Linked DNA regions of Homo sapiens: region 1 is linked to region 2. Evidence: promoter capture Hi-C in 16 types of primary human blood cells and fetal thymus (Javierre and others, 2016). All regions are on one chromosome and are shown on one strand. Each heading gives the region's core, a stretch centred on a gene start or on the middle of the fragment in contact. The rest is flanking DNA. Distances are from core to core; before and after follow the strand shown.

Region 1 (4,815 bases), core at 2,071-4,570, 310 kb before region 2:
GGCAGGAAAGAAGATATGAAAAGTCAAGATGGGATGAACTTTTAGAAAGGGTGACCAAGGAAGGACTCACTAAAAAGGTGACCTTTGAGTAAAGATCTGAAGTCTGTGAGGGATCTAACTAAGTGTGGTGATGTGGGATGGAAATACATCCCAGGTAAGGAGACGAGCAACTGAAAAGGCTCTGTAAAGGGAACATGTCCAGTATATTCCAGGAACATCAAGAAAGCCAAGATGACTGAGTAGGGTGAGTTAGATAGAGAGAGAGAAGTAGATTAGGCAGAAAAGTAGTAAGATTGAACAGGGTAGGGCCTTGTCAGTTATAATAAGGACATTTATATTTCCTCTAAACAACACAGTAAGTGGGTGGGGAGTTTGAACAAGGGACATGTGTCTGGATATGTTGAGAATAAACTATAGGAAGAGAAGAGTGACAGGGAGACTGGCCTGTCTACATCATTCCTGACAACAGCAAACCAAAGAAGAAAAGAAACCTCATAATGAAAGCATTTGATAAAATAAGTAACCATTCCTAATTTAAAAAAAAAGTAAAATAGGAATAAGAGGGAACTTCATTTATGTAGTAAAGAATTATACGTAATTTAATGAGTCGTTCTTAGATGAATTAAATTAGATATAAAAGAAAATATCCTTAACCTGATGAAGAAGATATCAGGAGCTCTTCTGATCTGGCAGATTCATCCCTTTCTCTGGACTATCAAGATTACAGAACTTAATGACTTGCCTCCATTCACTGATAGTATTTCTTTGTACTACGTGTGTGTGTGCACGTGCGACAGAGAGAAAGAGAGGGACTAGTAAACATAAGTGAAATTAGCCTTGAAAAAAAAATACATCAATCACAAACAACAAAAGTTATACTAAATAATGAAACAAAAGAGGCATTCCCACTGTCTTCAAGAACAAGATCAGGAGGCTCGTAAGGAAGTTCTAGTCAATGCCAGTCATTAAGTTCTGTGATCTTGGTAGACCACAGGGAGGGACGAATCTGCCAGATCAGAAGAACTTCTGATATATTCTTCATCAGGTTAAGGATATTTTCGTTTATGTCTAATTTAACCAAGAATGACTCATGCAGAAGAAGAAAGAAAAGGGGGCATAAATGTTGGAAAGGAAGAAATGAAAAATCATCATTTACAAATGATTATATATAATACCAAGATAAACCAAAGGTATCACTTTAAATTAGAATTAATAAAACAGATCACAAAAATTTGGAACTTGATTAATAAGCACAAACGCACTACTAATGTGTCTAAAAAGAAAGTTGGAAACTGTTGACAGTGGCTGGGAGTGGAAAAGATAACAAAAGTTTCTTTCCCTGTATACTTTATATATTTCCTTATTGTTTTGAATATTTTTAACCACTAATATATAATACTTGTATTACCAGAACAAAATACAAGATTCCTAATCTGGACTATTATATATATATAACACAGACCCTCTTGGCCATTGTATTAGCTCTTAATTTTTTGCAGGGCGGGGGTTACAGACCCCTTGAGAAACTGATGAGGTCAGTGATCTCTGTTCCTGAAAAAAATGCATTTAACCACACATATAATCCCAAACAAAGCTTTGCAGGTGAATGCAATTTCAGGTGGTCTACAGAGTTGACCGGGTGAGAACACCTACTCTGGGTTCATCAGTGGGGATTGTTCCCTGGGCATACATTTGGTTGAGAGGGCACCAAGGTGGATGTGTACTGGCAGGCAGTAACCTTGCAGGAAGGCTAGACTCTTCCTAGGTCCCCTGGAGCTAAGGAGGCAGAAGTGAGAGGCCCAGGAGGATGCATCTCTTAGGCCAAGTGGTAGTAGCAGACAGTGTTTGGAGCAAGGTTCACTGGTAACCACGAATAAGGACAGACAGCAGTCAGGCCTGGGAACTTCCCCCAACAATCACTTTTTGTGTGATCACAAAAACCTTTTTGTGAAATCACAGGTTTCACAAATCGTCAGCTGCAGGGTCAGGTAAGAACAGCAATCCTTTCTATGCATCAATGGGTTTCCTCTGGGAACTTGGGGGAGGGACGGAAAGAGCCAAAGACATTTAACCAGGTCTGCATCTTGGTCACTTGTCTGGATATATTTTGGGTGTGAGCAACTGAGCCAGGTACCTGAATGCAGGAGATGAGCGGCTCTGGCATATGGGAGGGAGTAGAGAGACAGCATCTCCCTCCTCCTCCTGACAGGGCAGGGAGGATTTGACCACTCTGCACCCACCACACTCAGTTTCCTTGGCCTCACAGCTCTTCCTTTTGCCCAGAGTTGAATCATTAACTGGAACCTAATCCGAAGACAGGTGTTTAAAACTGTCATGGTTACAGCCATCAAATTACAGGAGGTTCACACACAGCAGTCAGCAATGGTTTGGGAATATTAAATAAATGTGTTTCTCTAACAGGACAAGACAGGATCATTTATTTATGCAACTTAAAAGCTGTCCCAGAAGGAGAAAAAAGTAGCGTATTATTTGTCCAAAATAAACAAGATTGAAGAACTGAACATCTCTCTGTGGATCAATTTACAGATCACATGGAAATATGCTTATCTTATTGAGAAATATTCCATTTTAGATGTTCAAATACCTTAGCATATTTTAAAAACTATTTCCTATGTGACCAAAAGAATTCATGTTCTATTCGGTAAAAATTAACCAAAATTAATGGTGCTTTCCAATGGACGCAGGAAACCTTTTTTCTTTACAAAACATGCCCACCCTTTTTTTGTTGCTACTTCCCACATTGAATTCTTGTTTTACTGAATTTTCTTACTATAAAAATAAAGCATGATGATAGTTTTGAAAACAAAACAGAAGTATTTGAGAAGTACAGACCCCACTCCCACTCCTTGTCTCCTTTCTGACACTCTGCCCCTTAACTATACTGGAACAGGGAGTCAACTGCAAGGAAAATCCTGGGGACTAGGGGCTGAGGAACTAGAGGTGGAGAGATGGAAGAGTGTCCAGTAGCCCAGGAAAGGATGAAACAATTCCCCAACAAAAAAGTAAAAATTTTCAGTAGCCCTCCGAGAAGATGCAGCCCCTCCCAGGTAACCAGAGAAAGGCAAATTGTGAAAGCAGGGAGAAGGGGCTACTTTAGGCCTCCAGGACTACAAAGACAAAAAAATGAGTGACAGGACCTGATGTGGTGGGGTGAGATGGGAATGGAAGTAAAGGAGGGGGCTCGTACTCTTGGTGGGAGTGGAAATTGGGGACCCAAGCTTACTGGCGATGCAGCCCTCACGTGACCAGGAGCTGACGTGGGCAAAGGTACTTAAAGCCCTGACCGTCGTTCTCCGTCCTCCTCTGGGTACCAACTCTATTGCGCAGCTCGCTGCCGTGCGTTTAACCCAGGCGAGGAGGAGGAGGAGAAAATTCCCCCAGATTCGGGCAGGTGGGTGTGAGGGTGGGCACAGTCTGGGACCCCTGAATAGGGGTAATCTAGGGATGCGGGAGTCGGAGGCCGCGGGTGCCTCGGTCTCCCCCACTCCTGGCCGGCTTTCCAGACCTGAGGTGCTCAAACGCGGCTCATTTTGGTGGGCGGTGGGGAAAGGGGGAGGGGGAAACGAAAAGACTTTTGATAGACTTTACGAAGAATCCGCTTACTTCCTTTCCAGCCAGTGTTTTTTGGTTTTGTTTATAATATTCAGGCCCGCACCCCACATTCCGTCCTGTTTTGAGAGGAGGAGGGAAGAGAAATAAACGTGGCAGCGCATAGAAGGCCAGCAGGGAGGTTGGGAAAGGGTAACCAGGAGGCGGGGGTGGGGCATGCAATTTGGTAACAATCTGGGCGGCACACTCCCACCCTGACTTTCCCCACCACCGCCCCGGCACCCTCCCATCCCCCAGCCGACCCTCTGTGATTTGGGAGTGCTGGGAAATGGGTGTACCAGCTGCTGTTGGAGAGGTGGCGGGTTTGGCGCTGTCTGGGCTTCACGGGAGGTGGGGGGGAGGGGGCGGACCCTGAGAGAATCTGGTATTAAACCGCCTTGTTAACTCGCAGACTGCTTTCCAGACACCTCCGGCCCACACAGCCGTTCACCCCCCGTCTTTTCAGTCCTGGAAAAGGAATTCGGGTATGCAGGCGGGAGAAATGGCGGTTGTTGGGGGGATTTGTGGGAAGTGGGAGGTAGAGCCCATAGCAGAGAAATCGTGGAAAATCTCGACCCTGAACCCGAAAAGGCAGACGTTGAGGCCCCTCTTCTGCAGGCTAACGCTAGGCCTAGGGGCTGGGGAGCGAAAGATGGGTGATCCTGGGAGGGGAACACTGAATTGTTTGGCAGGAGTCCCCCATACCGCGTCCCATCCAGCTTTTGCTGCACCCTCGCCCCGCTCCCCTCCCGCTTCGTTGCAGGAGAAGGGGTGTGGCGGTGTGTCCTGGAGAAATGGCGGACGGGGGCGGGGCAAAGCGGAAGGAGGGATTGAGTGCCTGGGGAGCCTGCGCAGGAGGAGGATTGAGGTGGGAGGGGTGGGGTGAGAAGAGTTGAAGGAATTGAGAGGTAGAATCATTTGACATTCTGATGTGCAAACACGAAAAGGCAGTTACTGAGACCCTTGTCCTGGATGCTGATCCATCCACCAGGCTTTCATTGTCTAACGTCGACAGTCTATATTTCTGCTCTTCAGTCTGTCCTTAGGATGAAGCTCTAACTGAACTGAAGTAAGGAGAAACAGCCTTGAATCTTTGGAGGGTCAGTGCTGGGGTTGGAATTGTCTGGGGCCCCCTGGTGTGGGTGTGGCAGAGACAAGAGTAGAGTATGGGACCAGAGGCTCCTCCTGCATCTTCTCTCTTTTAAT
Region 2 (4,765 bases), core at 1,791-4,290:
CGTGGGGTATGTGGGTAGGTGTGGTATTTTGGAAATAAGGAAATCTGTCCTACTACTATTAAACTGCTTTGCTCCTCTTACCTCGAGTTCTTCCCAAGATGCCTTCTCTACTTTTCAGTAGATCCTTGGCAACCTAAATTTCTAGTAGGAAATAAATGCTCAACTCTTCAGAGTGTCCAACAAGTGCATATGTGAATCTGGAGCCTTCTTGGTGAGGTGAAAAGTGGGTATCTGGATCCGAGCATGGCTGGTTTCCCTCGAACAAATGACAGATCACAGAGAAAGTGCAGAAAGGGAGGACTCCTTCTTTCTTCTGTGTGATGCAGGATTAAGGGTGATTGGCTATGCTCCCTCCCAATCAGGACCTTCTTACTCTGCTAATTAAAAATGATTTCAGACAGGTACTTTATCCACAGCCTGTTTAAAGGAGTGGTCAAAATTGGATGCATATCAGAAACCCTAAGGAGCTCTTAAAAATGCAGATTACTGGCTGGGCATGGTGGCTCATGCCTGTAATCCCAGCAGTTTGGGAGGCCAAGGCAAGCGGATCACGTGGTCAGGAGATCTAGACCATTCTGGCCAACATGGTGAAACCCTGTCTCTACTAAAAATACAAAAATTAACCAGGCGTGGTGATGTGTGCCTGTAATCTCAGCTACTCAGGAGGCTGAGGCAGGAGAATGACTTGAACCCAGGAGGTGGAGGTTGCAGTGAGCCGAGATCCTGCCACTGCACTCTGGCCTGAGTGACAGAGCGAGACTGTGTCACAAAAAAAAATTCAGGTAACTGGGACTTTTCTCCAGAAATTCTGATTAGCTATGCCTGAAGTGGAACCCAGAAATCTCTTTTTAAACTTCCCAGGAAATTCTGATACTCAGCTAAGTTTAAGAATCACTGAGTCAAGGAATCAAGAAATTGATGACCATTGGTTCTAACAGATTGAGAGCATTCTGGCATGAATGTTCCCTGAACCACTAAATACCAAATACCTCGGGGGCTTATGGGCCATGGCCATCAAAAAGAACCTTAGTCGTAGGCCGGGCGCGGTGGCTCACGCCTGTAATCCCAGCACTTTGGGAGGCTGAGGCGGGGGAATTACCTTAGGTCAGGAATTCGAGACTAGTCTGACCAACATGGTGAAACCCGGTCTATACTAAAAATACGAAAATTAGCTGGGCGTGATGGCGTGCACCTGTAATCCCAGCTACCTGGGAGGCTGAGGCAGGAAAATCGCTTGAACCTGGGAGGTGGCAGTGAGCTGAGCTCACACCACTGCACTCCAGCCTGGACAACAGGGTGAGACTCTGTCTCAAAAAGAAAAAAAAAAAAAAACCTTAGTCTTTTTGTTACCAGTGGTAAAAAAAAAAAAAAAAAAAAAAAGGTCCCAGGTACTCAGAATCCCTGCTCAGTAATACAGCCTGTGGTTTTGAAATATTAATCACTAAAAATTATCACATGGGATTTCTGTTCTGCCAACCACTTGAACTTGTTTGGTAGCCATTTTTCACTTGAGGATCCAAAATAAGAATGTGTTGTATACAGTTACATAATGAACTTGCCCTCAATTTTGATCAGTGTGATTGTCAGTTTAATTTGCAAATTGTTCTTATCACACTAATAACCTGAGTTACTAAAGATGAAAAGTGCACAAAGACTTTATGGAGAGCTGCTATTTCTTTTTTTTTTTTTTTTCCTTTTGTAATCGACAGGGCATGCTACTGGGCATAGAGCATATATTTAATAAACATTTGCTGCTTACTCATTGCATTTCCCTTGAATTCTGGATTCTAGCCACTCTAACACTTTACTTTTTCTTTGGTTTTAGAAAGCAGATGAGCGTCCCACTTTCAAAATTCTTCTGAGCAATATTCTAGATGTCATGGATGAAGAATCCTGAGCTCGCCAATAAGCTTCTTGGTTCTACTTCTCTTCTCCACAAGCCCCAATTTCACTTTCTCAGAGGAAATCCCAAGCTTAGGAGCCCTGGAGCCTTTGTGCTCCCACTCAATACAAAAAGGCCCCTCTCTACATCTGGGAATGCACCTCTTCTTTGATTCCCTGGGATAGTGGCTTCTGAGCAAAGGCCAAGAAATTATTGTGCCTGAAATTTCCCGAGAGAATTAAGACAGACTGAATTTGCGATGAAAATATTTTTTAGGAGGGAGGATGTAAATAGCCGCACAAAGGGGTCCAACAGCTCTTTGAGTAGGCATTTGGTAGAGCTTGGGGGTGTGTGTGTGGGGGTGGACCGAATTTGGCAAGAATGAAATGGTGTCATAAAGATGGGAGGGGAGGGTGTTTTGATAAAATAAAATTACTAGAAAGCTTGAAAGTCTTTGGTATCTCTATTAATCATGCAGCCTCCCTGAAGCGCCCTATCTCAGTATTCCAGAAAGCTGCTGTGTAGCATTAGTTTGGCATATTCCTACACTGAGAACTCGACAGGATCCTCCAGGTTTAAGCCCTCTTGTTAACTCCTGCCTCTGAATCAAAGATGCATTAAGCAAAAACAGTGCCTGTCACAGCACGCATGCAATGTTATTTGAATGAATCTGAAAGTTGGGCACAAACTGCCATAGCCTCATTTCCCTACGTCGGGAGAGGAAAACTCCATCAAAAAACGAAAGCCAGGGGCCCAGGATAGCCAACTAATCGACCCAGTCAACTAACTGACCCAGTGCACAACTCTGGTAGCTCAGAAAACGCGGGCTAATTTGGAAGTGGACAGGGGCGGAGCTGTGGGGCCAGCACGGAATGGATCACGTGGTCTGAAGTAACTTCCTTTTCTCCTTTCTTTTCTTTTTGGAGTAACATCTCAACGGCACCTCGGCTCTGGGCTGTAAGCCCTGCGATCTCAAGGCGCAAGGCTGGGCGCAACGGCAGGGTTGCGGGGTTACGGGATTGCGGGGTCCGGGGAGTGGAACCCGCCGACTCCGGGAACGAAGCACCGGCGCCAAGGTGTGGGAGGCGGCGGGGTGGAGTTGGACGCCTGCCTCGCGCCGACGCAGTGCACTCACGGGGGCGGTCCCAGAGGCAGCTAGCTGTGGTTCCGGTTCCGTCGCGGAGACACGTGAAGGTCGGTGCGGAGTTCGTCTCTGCAAGCTTGGTCGCCCTGGGATGGATTCCTCCTCCTCTTCCTCCGCGGCGGGTTTGGGTGCAGTGGACCCGCAGTTGCAGCATTTCATCGAGGTAGAGACTCAAAAGCAGCGCTTCCAGCAGCTGGTGCACCAGATGACTGAACTTTGTTGGGTGAGGAGCCTGGGGCTGGGACCTGAACACTGTACCTACTTTCCCTCTGTCCTTGTACCGCGGGACTCGCGACAACGTCGGGGATTCGGGGTGGGGGGCGGGCACCTGGCAGCAACCCTTGATTTTCTCAGGTTCCTGTGGCCTAGCCGGATGGGAGAAGGGTGACTCCGCTTCTCTGGGGACTGTCATTCCGGACCTCGGCTTTGTTGGTGTAGAGGACTGGGTATCAAAGAAGACTTATGCCACTGGACACCCAGCACTTTCAGGCACCCGAGGTTGAAGCTGCCTAGTGCTGGTCACCAAGACTGATCGGAGCCCCCAGTACTGGGATTTTATTTTTGGCAGCCCGAGTCCCAGAGAGTCAGTGAATCAGTGAATCTGCTATTCCTGGACTCCTCGGGATTTACCTTCATTACCCAGTTCTAACCCTCTCCGCTGAAAAATGAGTGGCTCCAGCCCAGTAACTATAAAAGTGGTGTAATCTCTTCCAACGTACATACTTATTTGCTTTCTTGTTGGATTGTTGTGTAATACCAAGCCGTTTTGGGTCTGAAGGTTGAGGAATTGAGCCTGCCCTGTGAGGGGACTTTGGCAAAAGGGTGGAAGGTATTTGCAGCTTGCCAACAACGTGTTCTGCTTGCCAAGGACAGATCTCCCTTAATGTACACAATTCACAGAATTCAGAGGCCAAGGATAATTTTCCTTGGAATTAGAGGGTCTGAGGCTTGTGTACATGGCAGAGAATAATGAACGAAATTTTTGAACCACTTAACTTGAACTATATACAGTCATTGGTTTCCATAGGCCCTTTCCCATAAACTTACAGTATTGCTGGACTATGACACCTACCAGATGCTTACTTAACTCTGGTCTGCCTTGGACCAGAGTGCTTTGATTCTTTTTTAAAAATATCTGTGATTCGTTACTTTGGGGCTAGGAGGGCGTGTGGTTAAGTACTATTGCAAGAATCTGTAAGCTGCCCGGCGCGGTGGCTCATGCCTGTAATCCCAGCACTTTGGGAGGCGGGTGGATCACTTGAGGTCAGGAGTTCGAGACCAGTCTGGGCAACACGGCGAAGCCCTGTCTCTACTAAAAATAGAAAAAATTAGCTGGGCGGGGTGGCACCCGCCTGTAATCCCAGCTACTCAGGAAGCTGAGGCACGAGAATGGCTTGAACCTGGCGGAGGTTACAGTGAGATCATGCCACTGCACTCCAGCCTGGGTGACAGAGCCAGACTCTGTCTCAAAAAAAAAAAAGAAAAGAAAAGAAAGGAAAAAAAACTGTAAGCTATGATGAACCCCTTAGGAAAATGCATTCAATTTTCCATTCATCATGACAGGATTCAAGAATCTCTAGCTTAAGTAGACAAGGTTATAGAATCTCAAGTCATATTTTTTTTCTTCTTTGGTAGGTTTTAGGGTACCTTGCTGAAATGATTTATCCTTTCACCCTTTTATTCTGTAGTTAACTTAAAGGCATTTAGTTCAAACAGCATTGTGGAGTTAAAACCAAATT

Evidence for each region. Contacts are between HindIII fragments. The CHiCAGO score rates a contact against its expected background, and 5 or more counts as called.
Region 1: a contact is called between the fragment with the promoter of ARMCX2 here and the fragment with the promoter of TIMM8A in region 2, in 4 of 17 cell types (activated CD4 T cells, total CD8 T cells, monocytes and 1 more). The highest score is 5.7, in activated CD4 T cells.

The regions. Positions count from the first base shown.
Region 1 is chrX:101,658,355-101,663,169 of GRCh38, reverse strand. ARMCX2 (armadillo repeat containing X-linked 2) reads left to right here and starts at 3,320. Exons shown (of 6, transcript NM_177949.4): 1 at 3,320-3,412; 2 at 3,669-3,751; 3 at 4,022-4,094; 4 at 4,645-4,709. The HindIII fragment of the contact is 4,840 bases long and covers 3,242-4,815 here.
Region 2 is chrX:101,347,017-101,351,781 of GRCh38, reverse strand. TIMM8A (translocase of inner mitochondrial membrane 8A) reads left to right here and starts at 3,040. Exons shown (of 2, transcript NM_004085.4): 1 at 3,040-3,249. The coding sequence starts at 3,118. BTK (Bruton tyrosine kinase) reads left to right here. Exons shown (of 19, transcript NM_000061.3): 19 at 1,826-2,332. The coding sequence ends at 1,897. RefSeq lists an enhancer at 3,069-3,118. The HindIII fragment of the contact is 777 bases long and covers 2,328-3,104 here.